Regions from separate parts of the Homo sapiens genome. Here region 2 is linked to region 1. Evidence: promoter capture Hi-C in human tissues and cell types (Jung and others, 2019). All regions are on one chromosome and are shown on one strand. The core of a region is centred on a gene start or on the middle of the fragment in contact, and the rest is flanking DNA. Distances in the headings are between cores, read along the strand shown.

Evidence for each region. Contacts are between HindIII fragments. The study calls those that stand out against the background at their distance.
Region 2: a fragment that was not itself captured here is called in contact with the fragment with the promoter of EIF2S3 in region 1 in 1 of the 25 tissues and cell types used here (heart right ventricle).

The regions. Positions count from the first base shown.
Region 1 is chrX:24,050,141-24,057,105 of GRCh38, reverse strand. It overlaps EIF2S3 (eukaryotic translation initiation factor 2 subunit gamma), which reads right to left and starts at 2,150. Exons shown (of 12, transcript NM_001415.4): 1 at 2,069-2,150; 2 at 1,428-1,491. The coding sequence starts at 2,137. RefSeq lists enhancers at 1,892-1,961, 1,982-2,531 and a silencer at 2,592-2,801. The HindIII fragment of the contact is 10,457 bases long and covers 1-6,965 here.
Region 2 is chrX:23,921,388-23,928,705 of GRCh38, reverse strand. CXorf58 (chromosome X open reading frame 58) reads right to left here. Exons shown (of 9, transcript NM_152761.3): 6 at 1,336-1,467. Among named protein-coding and RNA genes, the nearest start is that of CXorf58, 17 kb to the right of the region's middle. The HindIII fragment of the contact is 5,728 bases long and covers 1,645-7,318 here.

The DNA of each region.
Region 1 (6,965 bases), core at 901-3,400:
TGAGCCGAGATCGTGCCACTGCACTCCAGCCTGGCAACAGAGCGAGACTCCGTCGCAAATAAATAAATAAATAAATAAATACAATTAAAGCCAAAGCCATAACTTGCTGTAAATATCAACATAAAACCAACAGTGACTTCAATTTTTCCTCCTCCATACCCCTTCCTACTAGAAACGTGTTCTCATATAGGACTTAAGAGAAACTTCCATGTAACTAACAGCTTTACTTAAAAAATATACTCTGGGACAGACAGGGTCTCCTGCTGCTGCCCAGGCTGGAATGCAATGCCCTGATCACAGCTCACTGCAACCTCAACCACCTGGGCTTGAGCAATCCTCCGACCTCGGCCTCCTTAGTAGCTGGGACTGCAGGCATGCACCACCACGCACAGCTAATTTTTTGTATTTTTTGTAGAGATGGGGTTTGGCCACGTTGCCCAGGTGGTCTCCAACTCCTGGGCTCAAGCAATCCACCTGCCTTGGCCTCCCAAAGGGCTGGGATTACAAGCATAAGCCACTGCACCCGGCCAGAACTTTATATATTAAGGAACCTTCCAGCATTTCCAGATTAAACAGGTATGATGGGCCCTGACACAACAAAAAGGGATCTGTGAACAAACAAGGAAACAACCTAAGTTTAATTGCAACTTGTTCCGTTGATCAAATTATTGGGTCAATATATGCACAGTAATTTGCTTTAACTGGTATAGTCTTAGCATAGGTTGTTCGGAGGTTAGGTTATGCTCCAAGGTCACCTCAACCAAAATTTTTAATGCAGGGGCAGTAGTTCAAGGCCTGTAGGCTTATTTGGGCTTTGTTTGCATTAATAAATTAAAGCTCCAGACTGTAATACTGTAACTTTAATAGCCTCATGGTGGAGTCTTACTTTTTAACTAGGTTAAAAACTAGTCTTACTTTTTAACTTACTTCTGTACTTTTTAACTTACTTTCGTACAAACTGTGCTGTTTGTACAAACTCAAAATGTCCAAAATTTACACTCAGTCAACGTAACTTCTCCTCTAAAGTTCTAGGTGCCAATTAAGAAAAAAAACCTTCTATTTAATCACAGCTTGTACATCAAATAAAACTTTCATAAATTCTGCCCTTGAAATAATCCTGTGTGTCAAGTACAGCCACATTTTTCACCTCTTCCTTAAACTTCTGCTACATATGACTACATACTGCCTTATGCTATTAAACTTTTCTTATGTCTCCATTTTTTCTTCTTACCGAGTCTGTAAGCTACATGTGGGCAGCATTCTTTGTGCTCCCCCTGCACCGCAAATGTAGCAGATGCTTTATTCACAAGGACTCAGTATCTATTTCTTGAATATCTGAATCCTCATACTATTCAAGTAATCACACAAAAAGTGAGGTTAAAATTAATTGTTGGAGACCAAGGTTAGGTCTCTTAAGTTACTCTTACCTATGTTAATTGTGGCTTGTCTGCTGATAACTTCGTGTGAAAGTGGCGTCAACTTGGTAACATCCTGCAATGAAATATATTTTAAAACACTGCACGTAAAACAAATGAGAACTTTTCCTTTGACTTTACGTTTGCTATCTACATCTTGCCACCATCTGCACAGCTTTCCACTACTTCTAAAGCTCCTTTTCCCTATCAGTAACTTTGTACTCCTATGGCTGGGAAGCTGTTAAGAGCCCTTCATCATTACACAACAGACTACACCTCCACTCAACTATTAGGGGATATCTGGAAGTCAGAGATCCCCCCAATCTTGGGAACATTAGCACTAAAAGTAATGCAGACAGGACACCCCCTTCCCAGACGTTCAGAGGCTGAAACCATGACAATCAACATCAAGACTTTCCAGCCGAACCCTCCAGAAGCTAGAAGTCCCACGACCGTACACGCCTGCGCCCAGATCGTGGACTGGCCTGGGTACAGGCGGCGCGAGCATGGCTTAGGGCGCCCAGTTCCAGGTCTCCCTCCTGACCCAGGCTCCTGACCCATGCTCCCGACACTGACTAGTCCCAATACCACCGGGAGGCTCGGTCACCTCCACTCCTGAGCTCACTCTGCATCCTCCCCAAGCAAAACCTCACCAAGGTGGTGAGATCCTGACGCGAAAGATGCGGCTGCCCTAGAGTCACTCCAGCTTCTCCGCCCGCCATGTTGCCAAAAGAGGAAGGAAATCACCCCGGCTGCCGCCTGATCATCTGCAGGGGTCCTAGTGCGGGGCGGGGAAGCGGAGACGGGAAGGCCGAGTAGGGGCTCAGGATGGCCGGTGCAGCAGCGGCCTCACTGCTTGGACATCTCTCCGCTTGAATCTGCACAGTGCCTGTCGGTAGGCTGAGTGGAAAACACGGTGCGAAGTTGCTGGAGCTATTCGTCGCAGACCTGGTAGATATTTGTGCAGGCAATACTGAGGGCAGCCACCAAACCCCCGCCCCGCCGGCCCGTGCGAGGCGGGTGATGCAACCCGGCGCGCGCGCTGGCCTGGGAGAGACCATTTCCGTTTCCTGTGGAGTTTCCCGAAACCTGGGAATCAGCTAGGGTGTGGGAACAGAGAAGAGGGAGTGTCCTCCCCGCCCTTTTTTTTTTTTTTTTTTGAATACCGATTTCTGTAATTTAATAAAGCGAGATCGGCTCGGGGTCGGCGCCCACCTATGACGGGGCTCTTGGCTGGGAGAAGGCCGCGTGCTGAGCCCCGGCGGGAGGTGGGGCGGGCGCCCCCGCGCGGAAGTTTGGTGAAGGGCTCAGAGGGGCAGGGCTAGCAAAATCAAAGTCCCCAGCTTGTTCCCAGAGAGCGATTTCTAGGGCCCGGGAGGTGGGCCTTGGTGACGTTAGATTGCGTTCCCAGTGAATATAGCTAGGTGTCGTAAGAGCGTCTGAAGTTCGCTGGTTTGTGTGTGTGTGTTTTGTTTTTTTTTTTCTTAAAGAAGCAGATCCAAAAAAACCTCGATTACCGATAAATCGGTATTTTAAAATTTAAAGAATTTTGAGACCTTAACCCACTTTTCGTCGTGTTGAAAAGCAGTTGAGTGATTTGTTTTTCTCCTTGCATTTCTATACAAATTTTATCATAAACAGCTATTTCCTTTTTTGTTTGCAATAAATTTATTTCCATAAAAACTTGTTAGACAGCTATTATGCAAAAGTATAGTAAAGAGAAGTGAAAAGATAATATGAAAGCCACAATGACGAATACTGAGAAGCCAAGCTCACTTTAGAATACTTGTAAGTAGTCATCAAGTTAGCTTATTTAGGAAATAAATATTATGAGGCCGGGCGCGGTGGCTCACGCCTGTAATCCCAGCACTTTGGGAGGCTGAGGCGGGTGGATCACGAGGTCAGGAATTCGAGACCAGCCTGGCCAATATGGTGAAACTCCGTCTCTACTAAAAATACAAAAAAAAAAAAAAATTAGCCGCCCGTGGTGGCGGGCGCCTGTAGTCCCAGCTACTCCGGAGGCTGAGGCAGGAGAATGGCGTGAACCCGGAAGGCGGAGCTTGCCGTGAGCTGAGATCGCGCCAACCGCACTCCAGCCTGGGTGACAGAGCGAGACTCCGTCTCAAAATATATATATATTATAAATGAAAAAAATGAGGGAAATTAGGGAAAATGAGGGGCAATATGAGAAGTGAAGAAAGGAATTCATTAAGGTGATAATTGCTACCTCTCTTTTTTTTCCCCCCGACTTTTAAGTTCAGGGGTGCATGCGCAGGATATGCAGGTTTGTTACATAGGTAAACTGTGTGCCATGGTGGTTTGCTGCGCAGATCATCCCATCACCTAGGTATTAAGCCCAGCATCCATTAGCTGTTCTTCCTGATGCTCTCTCTCCTCCCACCCCCAGCCGTCAGACAGCCCCCAGTGTGTGTTGTTCCCCCGCATGTGTCCATGTGTTCTCACCACTCAGCTCCCACTTATAAGTGGTAACATGCGGTATTTGGTTTTCTGCTCCTGCGTTACTTTGCTGAGAATAATGGCTTTCGGCTCCATCCATGTCCCTGCAAAGGATATGATGTTGTTCCTTTTTATGGCTGCATGGTATTCCATGGTGTGTATGTACCACATTTTGTTTATCCAGTCTATCATTGATGAGCATTTGGGTTGATTCCACGTCTTTGCTATTGTGAATAGTGCTGCAGTGAGCATATGTGTGCATGTATCTTTATAACAGAATGGTTTATATTTTAGAGGCTATATACCCAGTAATGAGATTGCTTGGTCTAATGGTATTTCGGCCTCTAGGGCTTTGAGGAATTGCCACTCTGTCTTCCACAATGGTTGAACTAATTTACACCCCCACAAATAGTGTAAGAGCGTTCCTTTTTCTCCACAACCTCGCCAGCATCTTTTGTTTTTTGACTTTTTAACAATCACCATTCTGACTAGTGTGAGGTGGTATCTCATGTGGTTTTGATTTGCATTTCTCGAATTATCAGTGATATTGAGCTTTTTTCCGTGTTTGTTGGCCGCATGTATGCCTTCTTTTGAGAAGTGTCTGTTCATGTCCTTTCCCCACTTTTTAATGGAGTTGTTTTTTATAAACAGCTATTTTAAACCAGAAAAAAAATGTAAGGAGAGGTGAATAAGAATTTAGGTTTTCTGGGCCGGGTGCGGTGGCTCACGTCTGTAATCCCAGCACTTTGGGAGGCCAAGGTGGGCTGATCACTTGAGATCAGGAGTTCGAGACCAGCCTGACCAAAATCCTGAGCTGGCAAAAACCCTCCTAAAAAATAGAAAAATTACCTGGGCGTGGTGGCACTACCTGTAATCCCAGCTACTCGGGAGGCTGAGGCAGAATTGCTTGAAACTGGGAGGGGGAGGTTGCAGTGAGCTGAGATTGAGACATTGCACTCTAGCCTGGACAACAGAGCCAGACTGTCTCAAAAAAAAAAAAATAGAATTTAGGTTATCTGTGTGTTCATTGAATACTTAAGTAAAATTTATATGAATACGTGTTTTATATCACATAAATTTTTGGTACAACAATTTAGCTAAAATAGGAAGTTATGTTTCAATAAATGCATGCATTAGTTAAGTGATGGTGAAAACTGGAGGTAATCACTTTAATCTTACATTCTTTTTTTTTTTTCTTTTTTTTGAGACAGAGTCGTGCTCTCTCGCTCAGGCTGGAGTGCAGTGGTACAATCTCAGCTCACTGCAACCTCTGCCTCCTGGATTCAAGCAATTCCCGTGCTTCAGCCTGCCAAGTAACTGGGATTACAGGTGTACGCCACCACGCCCAGCTAATTTTTTGGTATTTTTACTAGAGACAAGGTTTCACCTTGTTGGCCAGGTTGGTCTCAAACTCCTGACTTCAAAGTGATCTGCCTTCCAAAGTGCTGGGATTACAGGCCTGAGCCACCACGCCCCGCCTTAATCTTAGATTCTAAATATTTATACCAGCCAATTACAAAAACACACTGAGGTGATTAAAATGCCGGGGTATTATACAGTGGTGATGATTGCACATCTTTGTAAATATGCTAAAAACCAGTGAATTGTACAGTTTAATGTGGTGAATCTTAGGACATGTGAACTTTATCTAAATAAAAAAATCCGGCCGGGCTTGGTGGCTCACGCCTGTAATCCCAGCACTCTGGGAAGCCAAGGCAGGTGGATCATGAGGTTAGGAGTTTGAGACCCGCCTGGCCAACATAGTGAAACCTGTCTACTAAAAATACAAAAAAATTTCCCGGGCGTGGTACTGTGCGCCAGTAATCCCAGCTTCTCGGGAGGTTGAGGCAGGAGAATCTCATGAACCCGGAAGGTGGAGGATGCAGTAAACCCAGATCGTGCCATGGCACTCCAGCCCGGGATACAGTGCGAGACTCCGTCTCAAAAACAAAAACAAACAAAAAAAAACAACTCCAGCGAGATAGCGCCACTGCACTCCAGCCTGGCTGACAGAGTGAGACCCTGTCTCAGAGGAAAAAAAAAAAATACAGGCCAGGCATGGTGGCCTCGTGCCTATAATCCTAGTGTGTCCGGAATTGGTGGGTTCTTGGTCTCACTGACTTCAAGAATGAGGCCGTGGACCCTCGCGGTGAGTGCTACAGCTCTTAAGGTGGCGCATCTGGAGTTTGTTCCTTCTGATGTTTCGGATGTGTCTGGAGTTTCTTCCTTCTGGTGGGTTCGTGGTCTCGCTGGCTCAGGAGTGAAGCTGCAGACCCTCGCGGTGAGTGTTACAGCTCTTAAGGCAGCACGTCTGGAGTTGTTCGTTCCTCCCGGTGGGCTCATGGTCTCGCTGGCTTCAGGAGTGAAGCTGCAGATCTTCGCGGTGAGTGTTACAGCTCATAAAAGCAGCGTGGACCCAGAGTGAGCAGTAGCAACATTTATTGCAAAGAGTGAAAGAACAAAGCTTCCACAGTGTGGAAGCAGACCCAAGCAGGTTGCCAATGCTGGCTCGGGCAGCCTGCTTTTATTCTCTTATCTGGCCCCACCCACATCCTGCTGATTGGTAGAGCCGAGTGCATTTACAATCCCTGAGCTAGATACAAAGGTTCTCCATGTCCCCATCAGATTAGTTAGATACAGAATTTTGACACACAGGTTCTCCAAGGCCCCACCAGAGCAGCTAGATACAGAGTGTCGATTGGTGCACTCACAAACCTTGAGCTAAAGAGAGGGTGCTGATTGGTATGTTTACAAACCTTGAGCTAGATACAGAGTGCCGATTGGTGTATTTACAATCCCTGAGCTAGACATAAAGGTTCTCCAAGGCCCCACCAGAGCAGCTAGATACAGAGTGTCGACTGGTGCACTCACAAACCTTGAGCTAAACACAGGGTGCTGATTGGTGTATTTACAATCCCTGAGCTAGACATAAAGGTTCTCCAAGGCCCCACCAGAGCAGCTAGATACAGAGTGTTGATTGGTGCACTCACAAACCTTGAGGTAAACACAGGGTGCTGATTGGTGTATTTACAATCCCTGAGCTAGACATAAAGACTCTCCACGTCCCCACCAGACTCAGGAGCCCAGCTGGCT
Region 2 (7,318 bases), core at 3,259-5,758, 130 kb after region 1:
AGTTTGTGGTGCTCCAAAACAATTACAATAGTAACATCAAAGATCACTGATCACAGTTCACCATAACAGATATAATAATAATGAAAAGATTTGAAATATTGCAAGAATGACCAAAACGTGACACAGAGACACAAAGCAAGCACATGCTATTGGAAAAATGGCACTGATAGATTTGCTTGATGCAGGTTTGCCACAAACCTTCCATTTGTGAAAACACAACATCGGCCAGGCGTGGTGGCTCACGCTTGTAATCCCAGTACTTTGGGAGGCCGAGACGGGCAGATCACCTGAGGTCAGGAGTTTGAGACCAGCCTGGCCAATATGGTGAAACCCCGTCTCTACTAAAAATACAAAAAAATTAGCTGGGAGTGGTGGCACATGCCTGTAATCCCAGCTACTCGGGAGGCTGAGGCAGGAGAATCGCTTGAACCCAAGAGGCAGAGGTTGCAGTGAGCTGAGATTGCGCCATTGCACTCCAGCCTGGGCGACAAGAACGAAACTCTGTCTCAAAAAAAAAAAAAGTATGTAACTCAATGGTTTTTAGTATATTCACAATGTTGTGCAACTATCACCACTGCCTATGAATATTTCAGAATATTTCCATCACCCCAAAAGAACCCCCAAATTCCTTAGCTCCCTACATATAAAAAGCCATATATCACATGATTTCCTTTATATGAAATATCCGGATTAGGCAAATCCATAGAGACAATGCAGACTGGTGGTTTATGGGGCTGGAATGATGCAGGAATGGAGAGTGACTGCTTACTGGATGCAGGGTTTCCTTTCGGGGTAATGAAAAGGTTCTGGAACTAGATGGTGGTGATGCTTGCACAACCCTGTGAATGTACTTAATGCCCCTGAATTGTACACTTTAAAATGGTCAATTTTATGATGAGAACACATGGACACATAGAGGGGAACAACACACACTGGGACTTACCAGAGGGTGGAAGGTGGGAGGAGGGAGAGGATCAGGAAACATAACTAATGGATACTAGGCCTAATACTTGGGTGACAAAATAATCTGAACAACAAACCCCCTTGACACGAGTTTACCTATATACAATAACAAACCTCTACATGTACCCCTGAACTTAAAATAAAAGTTAAATTAAAAAAAAATTTTAAAAGAAAGTTCTAGTGCTTGGGCATCCGAAAATAAGTTTCATTCTATAGAATATATTTGAAAAATAAAATAAAATATAATACAATAATAAATTTTATATTGTGTTATATTTTACCATAATAAAAAAGTATGATTCTATCTTCTTGGATGACAGAGTTAGGAAGACTTGCTGGGTTTGTTTGTTTTTCTAAATCTAAATTCCTTACTTGTACATAATCTTGCATGGTGACAACATCCATTATATCAGTTACTTTGGACTTCGGGAAAATACGTTCATCTTCCATAATTATACGGTGAAATTTCCTTTCCCCCATTAGTTTGCAAGCATCATCCACTGCCTGTAAAAAGAATAGAAAATAGACTTTAAAAATAGTAGAATAGCATTAATGATCAGCACGCCCTTTACATATTTCTTCTGACAAATACATCAAATATTGTTCCTTTCTTCTAGCAGCTTGCTATTCAATAGAAAGGCTGCATTTGCAAAGAGATTATATAGGGATTATTAAACCACTTAAAATTGTTTCCATAGCCTTATCTACATAGGTTTTTTTTTTTGAAACGGAGTCTTGCTCTGTCACCTAGGCTGGAGAACAGTGGCGCCATCTCAGCTCACTGCAACCTCCACCTCCTGGGTTCAAGCGATTCTCCTGCCTCAGCCTCCTGAGTAGCTGGGACTACAGGCGCATGCCACCACACCTGGCTAATTTTTTGTATTTTTAGTAGAGACCAGCTTTCGCCGTGTTAGCCAGGATGGTCTCGATCTCCTGGCCTCGTGATCCGCTCACCTCGGCCTCCCAAAGTGCGGGATTATAGGCGTGAGCCACCGCGCCAGGCCATCTACATAGTTTTTAAATGCAGCTAGAGGAATTGCTGAGTCCAGAATCCTCAGAGAACATAGTTTTAAAACAACTGGTTTTTCCCCTTAAAAGACTTTTAATTCTTTTATTTTGAAAAGCAAAACAAACCTGTAATATCATTCGTGCAGTCAATGCAGAGAAAACTTATCTGGTGATTCAACGAGTTACCGTAGGAACTGCAATGAAAGGTGTCACTAGTACCACCTCTCTTTTATGTGTTAATACACTGCTGGTAAGTGGAAACATGTATGTTTCAGACTGTTTAAGCCTCCCTCCCTTCAGACTTCATTCTCAGCAGCTAAAAAGTGGCAAATAGAGGGGTTTTCTTTTCTCTCCCAAATGTCAACATTTTATGCTCAAGGAAAGCACCTGAGAGGTCAGAGACAGAAGAATCACAGAATATATGGAAGCTCAAATCCTGTTGGGCCCTACTTATACCATACCCTTCCACATATAAGTATCCTGTGCTAAGAGCTATACATAGACTGTGAGTAGAGACTTAAGTACTCTGCACCCCCGCCATAAGTATGTGCTGACTCTTCTAACACATATTTATATTACAGATCTGTACTTCTGGCCACAAAGGGTATGTTTATATGAAGGGAAGGATAGCACAAAAGAAAATTCAGGGCGGGCGTGGTGGCTCACTCCTGTAATTCCAGCACTTTGGGAGGCCGATGCAGGTGGATCACCTGAGGTCAGGAGTTCGAGACCAGCCTGGCCAACATGGTGAAACCCCGTCTCTACTAAAAATACAAAAATTAGCCAGGCGTGGTGGCAGGTGCCTGTAATGTCAGCTGCTCGGGAGGCTGAGGCAGGAGAATCGCTTGAACCCAGGAGGCGGAGGTTGCAGTGAGCCGAGATCATGCCACTGTACTCCAGCCTAGGGGACACAGCAAGACTCTGTCTCAAAAAAAAAAAAAAAAAAAAGAAAAGAAAAGAAAAGAAAATTCAAACATCTTTTGATTCCAGTTAAGTTTCTTTCTTCCTTTGTATGTCAGAATGCGGTATTTGTGAAAGTATGGGAACTCTGTTATAATGTTGATACAAGGCCTAAAAGAGTGGTTGAGGCCAGGCACGGTGGTTCACACCTGTAATCTCAGCACTTTGGAAGGCCGAGGCAGGCGGATCGCCTGAGGTCAGGAGTTCGAGATCAGCCTGGCAAACATGGCAAAACCCTTTTTCTACTAAAAATACAAAAATTTGCCTAGCATGGTGGCATGTGCCTGTAAACCCAGCTACTCGGGAGGCTGAGGCAGGAGAAATGCTTGAACCTGAGAGGTGGAGGTTGCAGTGAGCTGAGATCATGCCACTGCACTCCAGTCTGGGTGACAGAGTGAGATGCTGTCTCAAAAAAAAAAAAAAAAAAAGAGAAAAGAAAGAGTGGTTGAGACAGGATCAAAACTGAGAATCACTGTTCTTTTTTCTTAACACACAACAGCAAGCTATAATGCATTTTCTATTCCAATTCTCACTTTTGTTATTCAGACTATTCCTTTATTTATTTTTTTAAATTCCAAAGCTTAGAATATCACAGACACATGTAGAAAATGAAAAAGGAAGAAAACATTCAAATGGTTGAATGGTTGAAGTTTTATTCCTAACGTATAGAACTGAAGAGACAAACAGTTTAGTGAAAATGTGATATGGAGCTTTCCTTTAGGTAGATCATTTTTGCTTTATATTTCATTAATTTCTTCTTTTTTTTCCAGCATGCTATTTTATTGATGTAACAACATTTTCAATAAAGTTGGTAAATTATCACTATATTACTGTCTTATAGCAACATAGTAAGAGCTCTAGAGATTGTATAAGCATAAAATGTGAATTTAAAAAAACAATATGTAGGATTTTTATCAGGGCAAGCATTTCCATAACCATAAATATTTCCCTTTTTTTATTATTACACTTTAAGTTTTAGGGTACATGTGCATAATGTGCAGGTTAGTTACATATGTATACATGTGCCATGTTGGTGTGCTGCACCCATCAACTCGTCATTTAACATTAGGTATATCTCCTAATGCTATCCCTCCCCCCTCCCTCATCCCCACAACAAATTTCTTTATACATTACACAACTAAAGAAAAGATAGGCCGGGTGTAGTAGCTCACACCTGTAATCCCAGCACTCTGGGAGGCCAAAGCAGGTGGATCACCTGAGGTCAGGGGTTCGATTCCAGCCTGGCCAACATGGTGAAACCCCGTCTCTACTAAAAAACACAAAAATTAGCTAGGCAGGGTGGTGAGCACCTGTAATCCCAGCTACTTGGGAGGCTGAGGCAGGAGAATCGCTTGAACCCAGGAGGTGGAGGTTGCACTGAGCCGAGATTGTGCCACTGCACTCCAGCCTGGGCGACAGAGTGAGACTCCACCTCATAAATAAATAAATAAATAAATAAATAAATAAATAAAATAAAGATAGTATTGGCAAATCTCTCCATTATGTTTTCTTGCAATTAATTTCCAACATTTTATGGTTCTAATTAACCAGCCCCACAGTGACACTAAAGGTAAAAACAAGTAATTGTACACTGAACAGGTATGAAGACCATATAATTTCTGCTTTAGGAATTTCTGTAGGCATAACTATAATTTACTTTAGCTGAAGTTACTAAAAAAGGGTTTTTAAAATTTTTATTTTTATTTTTTGAGACGGAGTCTTGCTCTGTCACCCAGGCTGGAGTGCAGAGGTGCCATTTCGGCAGACGGCAACCTCCGCCTTCTGGATTCGAGCGATTCTCCTGCCTCAGCCTCCTGAGTAGCTGGGACTACAGGCGTGCACCACCATGCCCAGCTAATTTTTGTTTTCAATAGAGACGGGGTTTCACTATGTTGGCCAGGCTGGTCTCGAACTCCTGATCTTCTGTTCCACCTGCCTCGGCCTCCCAAAGTGTTGGGGTTACGCCCAGCTAATTTCTGTATTTTCAGTAGAGATGGGGTTTCACCATGTTGGCCAGGCTGGTCTCAAACTCCTGACCTCAGGTGATCTGCCTGCCTTGGCCTCCCAAAGTGCTGGGATTACAGGCGTGAGCCACAGTACAAAAGGTATTTATTTAGGGTTTTTTTTTTTTTTTCTGAGACAGAGTCTCCCTCTATCGCCCAGGCTGGAGTGCAGTGGTGCCATCTTGACTCACTGTAACCTCTGCCTCCCGGGTTCAAGCAATTCTCCTGCCTCAGCCTCCTGAGTAGCTGGGACTACAGGTGCGTGCCACCATGCCTGGCTAATTTTTTTTTTTTGTATTTTTAGTAGAGACAATTTCGCCATTTTGGCCACACTGGTCCTGAAATGACCTCAAGTGATCCGCCCACCTTAGCCTCCCCAAAAAGGTATTTATTGACAGGTCCTCCCTACACTGCCCCACTCAGCCACCACCACCAATCTCTCCAAGACCCAGTTTCCTTATGTGTGCAGTGCCTCAGTTGTGTGCCTCATCTGTGTCTGGCCCATTCTGGTCCCTCAGCCAAAGAAAAACATGCCTGGCAGCATAGGGCAAGCTCTCTGCCCACCTGTGAGAGGGGTTTGAGAAATGTTTGCTGTCCAATGGCCAAGATGTTCTTTCTCAGACATCTGCAGTGTATGGCCAAAGTCAAGAAAGTCCTTCTCCATAGGAAGCAATGGGAAAGAAGAGCCTAGAGCCAGGAGAAAAGCAAGGGCAAAAACTAGGCAAAGATTCCAGGATACCAGCCAATCAGGGTAGGATTCAAGAGGCAGGTTCTGTTCTTAGTGGGTGACTCAAAGCGTCAAAGCGGGCCATCTCTAAATCTGGCACTTATCCTGATACTCAGCATCTCTGTGGCCAGAAGCCCCCACAGCTCTGTGGCTATTTGCTGGCCTAGATCCACACTTGGGCTTGTAAAGCTACTCTAGTATCTCAAGACACTTTCCTGTTTCTACTGGGAACTGTCACTCATGGAAGAGGTAATAACTGGTATCCATGCATTGGAACAGTTTCTTGGTTTGGAACAGTCCAATTACATACAGGTTCAGAATAAACAAAACCACCATAACTGCATGGTTGTTTTAACCTCAAAATGTACATAGTACAGTGGAAACACAGAGAAGTGTTCAAGTCTCAGTTATGCTCCTGGCAAGTCTTTCCAACTTCTAGCTTCCTAATAGGGAAAATGGGAATAATGTGTCCCTAACCAGAGTTATTGCAGGGCCATCTAAGAGAATGTGTATGCTGCTGTTTAGCATAGTTCCTAACTCTCAGGAGTGGTTAAGAACTGGGACTTTGGAGGCAGGCTACTAGGTCTTGATCTCGGTTCCTTCATTTTCCAGGTGTGAGACCTTAGGCAAGTTAGTCTTTTTTGTTTGTTTGTTTTTGTTTTTGTTTTTTTGAGACAGACTCTCACTCTGTCACTCAGGCTGGAGTGCAGTGGTGCAATCTCGGCTCACTGCAACCTCCGCCTCCTGGGTTCAAGCGATCCTCCTGCCTTAGCCTCCCGAGTAGCTGGGATTACAGGCACGTGCCACCGCGCTTGGCTAATATTTGTATTTTTAGTAGAGATGGGTTTCACCATGTTGGCCAGGCTGGTCTCAAACTCCTGACCTCAAGTGATCCGCCTGCCTCGGCCTCCCAAAGTGTTAGGATTACAAGCGTGAGCCACAGCACCCGGCCCTCAGTCTTTTTTAAAATGAGGATAATAACAGAAAATACACTGTAGTGTTTATGATAATTAAATAGAGTAATGTGCATAAAATGTTTAAGATCATATTTGATAGAAAGTGCTCAGTAGGCTCAGCACTTTGGGAGGCGGAAGTGGGCAGATCGCTTGAGGCCAGGAGTTCGAGATCAGCCTGGCCAACATAGCAAAACCTCCTTTCTACTAAAAAAAAATGCAAAAATTAGCCAGGCATGGTGGCACATGTCTGTAATCCCAGCTACTCAGCTGGCTAAGACATGAGAATTGCTTGAGCCTGGGAGGGGGAGGTTGCAGTGAGCCAAGATTGCGAGATGGTGCCACTGCACTCCAGCTTTGGCAACAGATTAAGACCTTGTCTAAAAAACAACAACAACAACAACAAAAAACAAAAACACAAAAAACAAAAACAAACAAAAAACACAAAGAGACAAAGAGCAACAGAGTTGAGTAAGCTTAGAGTGAGAAATATTCCATATTTACAAGTTTTCTATCAACCATGAATCCAAGTGTTACCAGAGTTTGAAGCTGAACTAAAGGGAAAAAGGAACCTTAAACTGTTCAAGTTGGGTATGTTCTGATCATTTAAAACCCGTTATGATGTTTAGTGAAAAATTCAAGGTCAATAATATGACCACACTTTTATAATAAGAACAAAATTTAAAAATCTCTATGTGTGTATT